Linked DNA regions of Homo sapiens: region 2 is linked to region 1. The links are contacts of gene promoters, found by promoter capture Hi-C in human tissues and cell types (Jung and others, 2019). All regions are on one chromosome and are shown on one strand. The core of a region is centred on a gene start or on the middle of the fragment in contact, and the rest is flanking DNA. Distances in the headings are between cores, read along the strand shown.

Region 1 (6,658 bases), core at 3,275-5,774:
GTAGCAGCTTCCATTTCCTATTGTTTTATGCAGGCTGGATTCTTATTTCACACTCTGGACTATCAGTTTCTGAATATCAGAAGATAAGGATGGTGGTACTTTTCGAAGGTTCCATTTCTACTTCCAGTAATAGCCAATGAGGTTCAGTTACTAGGAAGCTTTTCATCTCTAGAGCTGATTTTTTTCAAGACAAAACTCTCAATACGCTAAAAGAATCTGAGATCACCTACTCCAAACCCCTGTTTCTGAGCTGCTCAATGTCTGAGACACCCAAGATAGCAAGTTTATTTTTTGATGTACCCCAAAGATGGAGGGTCTCAAGTCACTTTTAAGGTGTGTTTAAGTTTTAGTTACCCTGATAGGCAAATTCTTCCTTGTGTCTAAGGAAACTCTATGGTTGTAATGAAAGTTCACGTTACGTGGTTACATCAAATGTCAATGGGGAACACCCAGTCCTACATGATAGAGGGCCAGGAAAAAGCCAAGAATTTTTCATTTCCTTACTAGTGCACAGAATGGCAACCTGTGTGATTGAGCACTTGTAAATACTCTTTTGTCTGTGGCAACATAACTAGAGATTATTGATCAGGCACTATTAAATCTTTCCACTGCTCTGTTTTTAAATGCAGAAAGCCTTATTGGGTACTAGAAATTCAGTGGGCTTTGGAGATAGACAGACCTGAGTTCAGATTGTATTAAAATGTTGTTTGACAACTGTATGAGGTTTGCAAGTTAGTTAATCCTTATGAACTTCCGTTTTTCCAATCTGTAAAACACTCATAGAAATGTTGTGAAGATGAAATTATGCAATATGTATAAAGTAGGTGTTCAGTAAATGTTACCTCCCTTCCTTTTCCCTTCCATTTTCTTTGAACCTTATAAACTTCAGTTTTAATTGCTTAAAATATTTTTATTATTTATAACCTTTTTCTCTACCCATCACATAAAATTTAAAAGACTCAACATTTCTTTGATAAGAACCTGCTCGTTATTACAATGGTGGGTAACATTCGCTAAGCACATAAAATGTGCCAGGCACAATGCTAAGAGCTTCTTTCTCTCTCTCTCTCTTTTTTTTTTTTTTTTGAGACGGAGTCTTGCTCTGTCACCCAGGCTGGAGTGCAGTGGTGCAATCTCGGCTCACTGCAAGCTCCGCCTCACGGGTTCACACCATTCTCCTGCCTCAGCCTCCCGAGTAGCTGGGACTACAGGCGCCCGCCACCACACCTGGCTAATTTTTTGTATTTTTAGTAGAGACAGGGTTTCACCATGTTAGCCAGGATGGTCTCCATCTCCTGACCTCGTGATCTGCCCTCCTCAGTCTCCCCAAGTGCTGGGATTACAGGTGTGGGCCACCGTGCCTGGCCTGAGCTTCTTATGTGTTATCTTTTAAAATCATCACAACAACTCTTAAGCAACTCCTTTGATTACCCTCATATCACAATGACGTTGAAGGTCAACAGGGTTAACTAGCTTGTTCGAGCTTACCCAGTAAATGGGTAGGACTGAACATCAAGCTCAGGTTTGACAGGTATCAAAGTCCTTGTTTTTTAAAAAGATATATATATATATTATCATGGTAATCTGTACATAACATAGAATTTACCATTTTAACCCTTTCTAAGTGTACAACTCAGTGACATTAAGTGCATTCACATTACTGTGCAGCCATGACCACCATTCATCTCCAGAACGTTTTCTTCTTCCCAAATTGAAACTCTGTATCCATTAAACAATGACTCTTCTTCTCCCCTGCCCCCAGCCCCTGCCAACCACCATTCTACTTGCTGTCTGTATGATTTTGACTACTCTAGGTACCTCAAATAAGTGCAATCATACAGTATTTGTGTTTTTGTGACTGGCTTATTTCATTTAGTATAACGTCTTCAAGGGTCAACCACATTGTGCATGTGTCAAAATGGCCTTCCTTTTCAAGACTGAATAATATTGTGTTGTATGTACATACCGCATCTTGTTTATCCATTCATCAGTCTATGGACATTTGGGTTCTTTCCACCTTTAGGCAATTGAGAATAATGCTGCTATGAACAATGTTGTACATATATCTGTTTGAGTTCAGAGCCCTTGCTTTGAATTATTGCACTTAATTGCTACCCAATGTGGTCTCATAGCCAATATTTACTAGGAAGTGTTTTACATTTGGATTCGTTATTGAAAAGTCATGACATTAGCTCTCATTTTCTTCTTTTTCATAAATACCACATTGACAAATGATTCCAGGGTGTGCAGCTACATGAATCCATCCTGGTCACTCTCATGCTCAGAATCTGGCTATGATTGGGATGGGGCACTTGATCAGGAAACAAAGAAAACAGAGATAATGAGGCCAAGCAGGAATCAGACCTTCAACATGGCCTCTAAAACACATAGAGTACTGTGTTTTAACCAACTGAGCCATGCTGCCATGAAGACTCATTTACCTAGATTTATAAATTCTATAGTCCTAGCTACCAGAGAGGCTGAGGCAGGAGGATCCCTTGAGCCCAGGAGTTTGAGATTGCTGTGAGTTATGATCATACCACTGCACTCCAGCCTGGTTGACAGATGAGACCCTGTCTCTAAAAAAGAAAAAAAAAATTATACATTTTCATAAATGCTAAATTTAGCACATGACTTATGAAGATCAAGCAACCCAAAATTTATCTACTGTGGCCTTGCATAAGGTTTGCATGAACTGTGACTTTGTAAATTCTAAATCTACAAATAAGACATAGTTAAAAAGAAATAGTATAAGTACAAGACTAGCCAAGTGCCTAGGACCTAATAAGCACTCAACAAATGGTAGCTATTATTATTATGTAATAATATGGTTCTCTAAAAAAAGGAACATGCCCTAAAGCAAAACATTTGTAGCATCAGAAGATCTGGATTCTTATTCTGACTCTGTACCCAATGACCCTGTAGTATCAGATGGATCCCTTAACAACTTGGCACTCAATTTTTCTCTTCTGCAAAATGGGAATGACCATACTTTGGCCTTTCTCCCCAAGGTTATAGTAAAGACCCAATGCCATAGATATAGACAGAGATAGTACATGATGACACTTTGTACTGCATACGTCACCCCATTAAGATAAGAGGTCATTCATTTCAGCCCCTTTTAATATCAAAAACAAGCCTAGTGTTATCTTCGGTAATTGTGAACATGCCCATAATTATACTTTTACCAATGCCAGTAAAGCCAGTAATACATTTGTCTGCAATAGATGTGTTATCTATTCCCTTAGGAAACTAACAATAAAAATAATTCAAGAGTAATTATCTGGCTTTCACACTTTAAAGATGAGAACACATCCTGGTGTGCTATTCATTAATAACGTGGATACATTATATAATTGTATTTTATCTTTTTTAAGAAGTCATTCATGGTCCCACTGACAGCATATATACATCTCCTATGAATTTTTGGATACCAGTGTATGTTTTCCAGGTTCTACCTTAAAAGAAAATCATGTATGGACTTTTGATTATCCATGGTACTGGGAAGTAATTGAAATTCATAGATTAAACACATTCTTCAATCGAACCATTAGCTCAAACTTCTTCCTCACATAACATATCCTCTGGCTGATTTGCGTTTCACCATCCCTTCCCAGGACTCCAACTACCCAGAGCTTATGCTAAGGAGCAATGGAAAGGAAAAATAAATAGACAAAGCAGGCAGTATGAGGAAGGCAATAGGGGTAAAAAACAAGACATGGATAAACTGCAAGCTGAGTAATTGGCTGGAGTAAAATGAGCACTTTCAAATACTCAGCTCTTTCAGGAAACAAAATGACTGCATAATTGTCTAAAACCGCAGTCTGACAACCTGAAAACCACTGCACCTCTATTTAATTTACATTCCAGGAAAACTCAGTCAAAGATCCAATTACAATGTATTACCTTGGATGGAATTTGAATACTATATATGCTCATTGCACTTTCCAATTAGTAGTCAACAAGCATGTTATTTTTACCCCAGAAATATTCGTCTAATAACAACTTCCCATTTGGTGCACCAACAGTTCTGGTTGGTACCGGAGGGGGAGCAAGACACAAATCTGAACCATTTAGGAGTTTCTCTAAACACGTTTTAGGAAGCCCTACCCTTAAAGCCTATATGCCATGCACAATACCAACCTTATGGTCATTCGCCTTGTAATCGTTGAACCGAGGCTGGCCGCCTGCCAAGGTGTAGGCATTACCCTCTCTAAACACACTGATCCTCTGAGCAGTCAGCTTAGGGGAGCACATCTGGGGCCTGGGGACTTCCCCAGACCCATAAACACCATCCATTGTTTCAAGAGACTCTTGCAGAAAACTGTGAGGGTATTCCTCCTTTGGTGACTCTAATTCCTGCCCATCCTCAAAGACCTGCTTCAATACTCGACCGCTGTAGGAGGAGGAGATTTTAAATCGTACTTTCCGGGGTTTGCCATCACTCTTCTGATTCAGCTTTTTCTCAGGGTCCTCCATCAGCAGAAAGTTGACCCTGTGGTCTCCAGCCTTCCGTGCAGCCGGTGAAACTTGGGCCTCTGAGAAAAAGGCATTTTATTTTCTCTCCTCCTGCATATAATTAATTCAAGTTGTTGCTGGGGTATGGTCAGTTTACAGCAACTGACACCCATACATTAAATATTGATAGACCCTCATGAAAAGGCAGGTGATTCTGGTTTGATGGAGTGGATGGAATATAAGACAAGATTGATTCTTCTCATAATCCCAAGCTCACCATGACTTCACCCCAACCCTAACCTTTCTTAACCTGAGGATGAAGAAGTTTATTTAGACTGAACATGTGCCAATTCAATAAGGATCAGACACTCAATTAGTTAACAAGTGTCTTCTTATTGTTAGCAATGACAATTAAAATCTAGTGAGCATTTCATAAGTACCAGAGATTGTTACATGCATTATTTTATTTCATCCTCACGATAACCCTACAAAGAAAATCTTACCTTTGTTTTACACAGGGGAAAGTGAGGCTTAGAGCCACTTGTCATTTATCTTCATCATTTGTCTGCTCTATTACACCTAAGTAAGTGACAGAGCAGGGATTTGAACCCAGATCTATCTGACTCCAAAACCCAAGATCAGCCCACACAACCAGAAGTTTTCCAGTTCTGGTTCTAGAAGAGGGAATGACGTCCTAGATACAGTGGAGGTTCTTGGAGGCTGCTGCTAAGAACAGGAGAAGGCCGAGGGTCCTGGATTCTGGGCCTTCTCCCCCTACGCTAACCAGAGCACCTCCACTTGGTATGTATTTTACATTTAAGATTTCATTTGCAATCACAGCACAAGTCCCCATTGCCTGTTGGACTTCGTAAATGCCTGACACTGAACTAGTGGCTGGAGTGAATAGCACAGAAGCATGTGACCTGGGCCTGAGAACAGTCCTACAATCCCATACAGACCTCACACAGGTGAAATAATAACCTCATGCTTAGAGAGCAAACTGCCCACAGCTGAATCCCAGAATAGCCACTCTGGGAAGGAAGTGGTCTCTAAGGAGACAAGGATGGAAGAAGGTTTGTAAAGAAAAGGGCCCTTGGGCTGGGTAGAAAATGGTAGGTTGGATGTGAGGAGCTGAAAGTGGAGTAAAGCCTTTCTCCCTGTCTTTGCTACCAGCATCACCATTTACTGAGTTACCCAAATTGACCCCTCCTATTCCCCTACAGCCATTCGCTTGGATTCTTTTTTTTTATTATTTTATTTTATTTTTTTTTTTTTGAGACGGAGTCTCACTCTGTTGCCAGGCTGGAGTGCAGTGGTACGATCTCGGCTCACTGCAACCTCCACCTCCTGAGTTCGAGCAATTCTCATGCCTCAGCCTCCCGAGTAGCTGGGACTACAGGCACACGCCACCATGCCCAGCTAATTTTTGTATTTTTAGTAGAGATGGAGTTTCACCATGTTGGCCAGGATGGTCTCAATCTCTTGACCTCGTGATCCGCCTGCCTTGACCTCCCAAAGTGCTGGGACTACAGGCATGAGCCACCGCACCCAGCCCATTCACATGGATTCTTTCACCACTGCCTTCTTTCATCTACCCCTATCACCCTGGCCCTAGGGCAAACCCTCATCACTTTGATTTTTAAAGTTGCAGCTGTCTCCCAAGGACTTCCCTACTCACCCCCAATTCCATTCTCCATATTGATGTGAGAGCAATAGTCCAAAACAACAAATCCACAGGTGTCAGTCTCTTGCTGAAAAATCTTTTCTAGTGCATCAGGGCTTAAGTCTTAACTGTTCCATGTGACAAGCAAAGCCCCTCAAAAACCAGCCTCACCTTCCTTCCTTTCCAGCCTTGCCCTCTGTCACTCTTCCAGGGGCTGCCTGGGATTGGTGTTCCAGTTACACCAACAAGCTTACCCATTTCTCAAACCCACAAGTTTCTGTCTCTTATCCAGTACTCTGTCTCCTGATTTAGAGTGTCAAATTTCCATTCCTCCTTCAAGTCACACCTCAAATGTCACTGCTTCTGGGCAGCCTTCCCACCTTCCCCAGGGAGAGTGCCATGGGACTTTCGGACCTACCGCCATTCAGATGCTTCTCACTTTCCCTTGCCCTTCCTATTTTTCCCTCCATTCAACTGTGAACATCTTGCAGTCAGAAGTTGTCCTTACTATCTGTCTATTCCCAGTGTTTATCAAAG
Region 2 (6,964 bases), core at 3,894-6,393, 1.7 Mb before region 1:
CAAATACATAGAACATAGTTAAAGGAATTAATCTACCCATTTTCACTCTCAGTGAGAAATTCCACAAGAACATAGAAACTAATAAAGGTGTAATGAGATGTGGATGTTGTCTTGGAGAGGCTCACTGATTAACAAAATTATTTACTTCCATGCATCACACTCTTATGTTATGGGAGTCAAAAGAGAGACTCCATAAAGTACAAATTGTTCCCTGTTATCTTGTAATACTTTCAACAGTTCCTATCTAAGCCCCAAGGTTGTAGGAGGGCTTCTTGTTCTATGCTTCTCTAACACCCTGGGTAAACATCAATCTCAACTCAAAAACGTACACAGAGTAAGACAGCAAGGATTGAGCAATGACTATCAAGATTTTGCTGCCAAGCAGAGTCTAAGCTCTGGAGTGTATGGTAAATATTTTTTAAATGTCTGTATATTATGATGTTTTGACATCTTAAGCCTTTCTGGCTGGGGAAAGAATGCATGTCTTTGATATGCAAAGTAACCAATCTAGAGCCAAGCCTCCTTTGTCTGGCCTGTATATCACAGGAGGTAATATTTCTCTGCCTTAATCATTCCAGAGCCAAGTGTCAGGAAACTCAGAACCACCCCTAAAGCCCAAAGCTCACCAAAGTTATTCCAACTGGCTAAACCTAAACTGTTCACTCTGCTCTGCCTTGCCTTTCCCACGGAAATGCCAATAAAGGCAATGGCCTAAACCTTTCCCTGGCTCCTGCCGTCTGCCTCCTGACCATTCCTCCTGACCACGGTGTGTTTCCCATGTGGCTCCTGCAGGGCGTGCCTCTTGTCTCTAAGACCTGTACTTACAATATATATTTTTTTCTTTGAGCCTCTTCTGTGTCTCCTGTTGTGGCCACATCTGACTGATTATCACATAAAATAATACGCAACATGGGAGAGGAATTCTGAAGGGGGAAAAGTGAAGTGGGTATTTTACAACAAAAGACGACAAACTGCATCTATGGAGAGGAAAAAAAGCAAAGCCTCTCTGTTGCTGCCTAGCTTCTTCTACCTGGGCTTGTGGGCTGGGTTGGCACGGAGCTGGCTGCAGAGGCACAGCATCTATCTCATGACCAGAGCATCTAGCTGCCCCTGTTGCACACATGAGGGGTCATGTTGAGATTATGGCTTCCAGTCACTCCTGCACCTTCTGCAGGCTAGGGAGCCAGGTCAGCGGAAGCCACCACTTTCCAGTCATTACCAGTTAATCTTTCAACCTCTTGTGACTAAGCTCATAGAGGGCAGAAACCATACTTTACTCATCCTTGTAACCCATCACCCTGCACAGGAACTAGCACACAGAAAATGCTCAGCAACACTCAACAGGCTAGGCAAGGAAGCTCATGCCTGTAATCCCAGCACTTTGGGAGGCCGAGGCTGGTGGATCACTTGAAGTCAGGAGTTCAAGACCAGCCTGGCCAACATGGTGAAACCCTGTCTCTACTAAAAATACAAAAATTAGCCAGACGAGGTGGTGGGCACCTGTAGTCCCAGCTACTTGAGAGACTGAGGCAGGAGAATTGCTTGAACCCAGGAGGCAGAGATGGCAGTGAGCTGAGATCACGCCACTGCACTCCAGCCTGGCAACAGAATGAGACTCTGTCCCCCACCCGAAAAAAAAAAAAGACCGAACCCCCCAATGTTTAGTGAGCACTTTCTTGGTGTGAAGTTCTGGGCTTACACTTGAAATGCACTATCCCATTTCATCCTCACAAAGAGTCCCTGAGGTGCATGCAGCATCACATAGAGGACATGCACATCGCCTAGGGTCACACACCTGGTAAGTGACAGAGCCAATATTTCAATCAGGAGTGGCTGACTCCTGAGGCTCAGCTCCTAAACACCTGCAATGCTGAATAGAAAGCACCGAGAAGCATTCTACAACTTCCTCGAGCATCAGGAGACTGCTCTTTAGAAGTCCAGGGCAGCTAGATCTGGAGTTGATGTGGACTGTAGGACCTGTGTTTCCATGGTTGCAGGTCTGCCAAGATTTCTGAGTAAGATAAAGCACAGAGATGAGAGCCTGAGCTTTTTTGTCAAATGATAAATCCTGAGATAGTTACATTTGTATTCACTAGCCTCTTTTCCAAAAGGTTCAAAGAGAGCTCGATGTCCAGCAGCAAGAAAACACACACATAAAGCAACAACAGCTGAATAGATCAGGCGCCCCGAGTTCACTACATTTTGGGGGGATCATCCCTCAGGTTCAAGCTTTCTCTTCTGTAAAATGAGGAGATTGTGATTCTCACTGTGATTCTCCATCTGTGGACTGACAACAAATAATATTTTAAAACACAATTTCCAGGTTTCCGCGCTGCAGCGTTTTTATTTCAGCAGGTTTTCGGCAAAGCCTAGGAGTTTGTATTTTTAAAGCTCATTGAGTGATTCTAATGCTCAGCCTAGTTTGGGAACCACTGGTCTGGGTGATCTCCTTGGTTGCTTCCTGACTGGATTACCCATTTTGGGGATTAAATCCCCGAGTTCTATCAGATGAGTACAGGGGTACTATAGAATGTTTAAGAAATGTTAAACTGAGTCTGGGGATGGGGACCAGAAAAAGTATCTGGAGAATGTGACAATACTAATTTACCTGATGAACGATAAGAAAGACAGTGCCTTTTTATAATGAACATCTTTTGATTTTGCAGGCCCAGCATTCGTTTTCCTACTGTTGAAAAAAAATGTCTTGATATTCCTCTGAGATATCACTCCATTCCCATCTCTTAATCCCTGTGTTTTGAGTGGGTTTGAAGCCATGGTGCTGGTGACCTCAAGGGCTATCTCTGCTTGGCTGCCCAGTGTAGGCATGGGACCCAAGCTAGGCCAATAGGACTCAAACCCAGAGTTTTTGATGGCTTGGTTGTAAAGCTAGGACTTTTTAATCTTGGAGCTGCTGGCAGCCCTCTTCCGTCATTGCAGGGAAGAAGCCTATGTACAATAGGGAAAAATGAGGCCAACACATAGAACACAGACAGTGTAAATCAACCTCTAAAAGCACAATCTGTCAGGTTTTAAATAGTGATGCATTTTATTACACCTAGATTGAATTTTGTCAGTGACCGATACCATGTACATATTTAACAGAAGGCTGCCAGAATATGATAAGGTATTTGTAATGTCAAAGAAGAAAAAGAAGACTAATATCTTTTAGAATAAGCAAGAAAGTCCTGTAAATCAAGAAGAAAAAGATTGCAAATGAGTACATGATCTGAATAGAAAATTTACAGAAAAGGAAACTCCAAAAGTTAACAAACCCAGAAATGAGCTGCTCAAAATCATGATGATCAAGAAAAGTTCAAATTAAAACAATTAAATATTACTTTATACCCATTAAACTGGCAGAAATTAGGAAGCTGGATATCGCCAAAGGTTGGAGGGAATGTGGAAATACAGGACCCTCCATGTATTGCTGGTGTGACTGTGCACCACTGTAGCTTTTTTGCAAGGAACTAGGCCCAAATTGGTCAAATTAGCTCTACATAAGCCACAAACCCAGTAACCTACCAGTGCTGTTGCAGGTTCTACATACCAGTGGATTTCTCTCAGGTTCACAAAAGGGCATGTGTAAGGTTCATAGAAATATTGTCTGTGGTAGCAGGGAGCTAGAGGTACCCATCACTAGGAGAAGGAGTGAGGAAAATGTGGTAGATCCACACCATTGATTATTATGTAGCAGTCATAATCAAGAAAAAATATATTATACAAACAAAGTGAGAAAAGGAGAAAACAGAATAAGGTCTATAGCCAAGTACCACTTGCACAAATTAAAAATACATGTACACAAAACAATTTATATTTTGAAAAGACATATCCAATAAAAGTCTATACATATTAAAAATATTAAAATGGATGCCCCCAAAGGATCCTTAGTTCTATGGGTGTTAAAAAAAAAAAAAAAGAAATCAAACAAATATTGGACAAGTGCAATAATGGGAAGACAAAATAAAAAACCCAGGTGCTAAGAGAAAGAATAATAAGAGAAATTTACTTTGCACAGGTTGGTCAGGAGGGGCTTCTCTGAGATCTCTGGTATTTCAGCTTCAACGTGACCGTGGACTAGCATCTGAGTGAATAGTTCTGGGAAAGCAGCTGCGTAGAAGAAAAGCCAAGAGAAAAGCTTGGAGGAGGGTAAGAGTTGGATAATTAGGGAACTAAAAGAAGTCAGAGGATGGTGACCCAAGAAGGCAAAGTCTCTCTTCTTGAGAGTTTCTGCGTTGGGGGATGGTGTGGGTGAAGCTGGGAAATCAAAATCATCACAAACAGTGTACAGGTTTGGAGCTGTGGGAGGACTTTTTAGCACAAGCAGGCAGCAGACTTTCCCCTGATAGCACTGTGTTAATACTACATAATTAGCCTGAGCTGTAAAATCCATTCTCTTTAGTCTGCACAGTCATTACATGGAGGAAGGAAGACACTTTTCAGGTAAACCTCCTTTCAGTATTGCAGCAACCAGAGTGCATTTGGAAGAAATAAGTCTGTGATTGTAATGGGAGGTCTCCATGTGGAATTAACACAAAACCTGCCTGTGAGGTACTGCTTTGAACTCTTCACTAGTCCTTAGTCTGAAGTCATGGAGGCTGTGGCTGCGTGGTATATGGGTAAGAACTTTGGGATCTGAAGGCCTTGTCCTATTCATGGTGTCAACCTCTGTCTGGTGCCTGATATTCTAGTCAGTAGATGCACAATTATATCTATGGGATGGATATAAATAAATATTTTACTTACTTTAAAAACAGAAGTTTGAATGAAAAGGTCATGATACAGTATGACTGGTTACACCCCTGCTATCACACACACATACACACACACACACACGCCAAAGCCATAAAGAAAAGACTAGAAGTAAGTGGAGGAAACATACAGAAATGTTGACAGTGATTTTGTATATATATTATATGGAGGATCTATGGGAAAACTTAACTTATATTTTAAAATTTTGAATATTCCATATTTTCTAGTAGATTATGCATATAATCTAATATAGATTTCTGTAATTTTTAATTTTCTGTTTTTTGATGTGATTTTCTATAACATAATTTTTTTAATAGAAATAAATAATTTAGTATAGGAAGAAAAAATGTTGTTAAAAATACCCTGTCTCCTCCTCTTAGGGGATGAACCATATTCACATATTTTTGATGGCTAATGGTCATACATATATATGTAAGATTAGATAGATAGATAATAAAAAAGAAAGAAAGGAGAAAGAAAGAAAGAGAGAGAGAAAGAAAGAAAGGAAGGAGGAAAGAAAGAAAGGAAGGAGGAAAGAAAGAAAAAGAAAAAGAAAGAAAGAGAGAAAGAAAGAAAGAAAGAAAGAAAGAAAGAAAGAAAGAAAGAAAGAAAGAAAGAAAGAAAGAGAGAGAGAAAGAGAGAAAGAAAAGAAAAGAAATCCGGTATTTGGATATGCAAGGATAGACCTGAAGCATAGTCTAAGGGGGAGCTGAAAGCTGTAATTTTTGTGCCTGAGTAAACAACAAGAAATGTGGGTCTGCACCTGCATCTGGAGAGATGGAGAGCCTAGGAGACAGATGGGCCTGAGCAAAGTAATGACAGGCAGAATCCAAGAAAACATGGCCATGGAGAAATTTCCCATGATGGGGTTGCTGTAAATTATTGAGAATAGCAATGTCTGGCTTTCCGTGTTAATTTCTGGCAAGGAAACATCTTCTTATGGGCCAGGCCATATGCTTGGAGCTGGGGTTACAACGTTAAAAAGAGAGACAAGATCTCTGTTTTCCAGGATTTTGTGTTCTCGGGAGGGGGAGAATAATAATAGTAATATTTATAATATTTATAATATGTATATAGCATTAAATATGCACCAAGCACTGTTCTCAGTGCTTTATATGTATTAACTCCTTTAATCCTCACAACAACCTCACAACAATGAGCTCTTCATTTCACAGATGCAAAACTAAAGCACAAAAAAAATTAACTAGCCTAAGACCCTTTAGCTAGTAAATGGTGAGGTTGAGATTAGAACTCATGTAGTCTGCCTCTAGGATTAGTAAATAAATGTAGTTATAGGCTGTAGTGAATGGCAGGAAAGGTATTTGCCGAGTATTTTGTTGGCAAATAACTAGGCAGGATCCACTTTTGAAAGATTGGTCCTAGAAGCCCTTTAAAGTGGCATTTAAAGGGAAACCTAAATGATGAAAATGAGACATGTCTAAGCTGAGGTGAATACTTTTCTATTATCCCCATACACAGCAAGTTGACTAGCTTTGGGGTTAATGGGGCTTTGGAAAATGAAGGAAGAAGGTGGTGGCAAAATGGTTCTCAAAAAGGGTGACCAAAGGAGCTAAGGCAGGGGGTGGAGATGACACTGACCAGGACTAGATATAACACATGCTCAATTTTCTCCAAAACACAGTAGGAGAAAATGATTCTCAAATCAGAAGACCCAGGATGGTATTTACACGGACAATACAGAAAAAGGCAAACCAGGCAGTAGACACTAGGGTTACACATCAGAGACAGGAGCTGACTGCAAAAGGGAAGTTGTAATCTCTTCCTCTCCACCCTCTTCAAAGTACCTTTTGCATAATATCCTTAAGGCCGTTTCCTAAGAGGCATTATTACAAGATGGCATGATATAAAGTGCTACCAAATTAACCACGTTTCACAGTGTTCCAAATCTATGCCCACAATATACAACGAGATTTTTTAAAAGCAAGAAAATGAGCCTATTTTTAACAGAGGGATATGAATGGTAATGCTGCCCATTCATGAATGACCATTGCTAAGTGGAAAATTATTCTAACATATTTTATTATTCAAAAATCATCAGGACTAAATAGCTGGTAAGATGAAGCTTTGGCTGTCCAAATAAGACTCATTCCAAACTATTGCCTTAAACTTTGGTACTGCTGAAAAGACTTTTGGTAGATTTGATATGTTTGCAGATGCATCTCCTTTGGTGCCATCCCTGCTGCTTCTGAAGAGC

Evidence for each region. Contacts are between HindIII fragments. The study calls those that stand out against the background at their distance.
Region 2: a contact is called between a fragment that was not itself captured here and the fragment with the promoter of GRXCR2 in region 1, in 1 of the 25 tissues and cell types used here (spleen).

The regions. Positions count from the first base shown.
Region 1 is chr5:145,868,490-145,875,147 of GRCh38, forward strand. It overlaps GRXCR2 (glutaredoxin and cysteine rich domain containing 2), which reads right to left and starts at 4,525. Exons shown (of 3, transcript NM_001080516.2): 1 at 4,144-4,525. The coding sequence starts at 4,479. The HindIII fragment of the contact is 8,071 bases long and covers 1-6,550 here.
Region 2 is chr5:144,124,933-144,131,896 of GRCh38, forward strand. No RefSeq gene overlaps it. Among named protein-coding and RNA genes, the nearest start is that of YIPF5, 42 kb to the right of the region's middle. RefSeq lists an enhancer at 234-735. The HindIII fragment of the contact is 3,922 bases long and covers 3,183-6,964 here.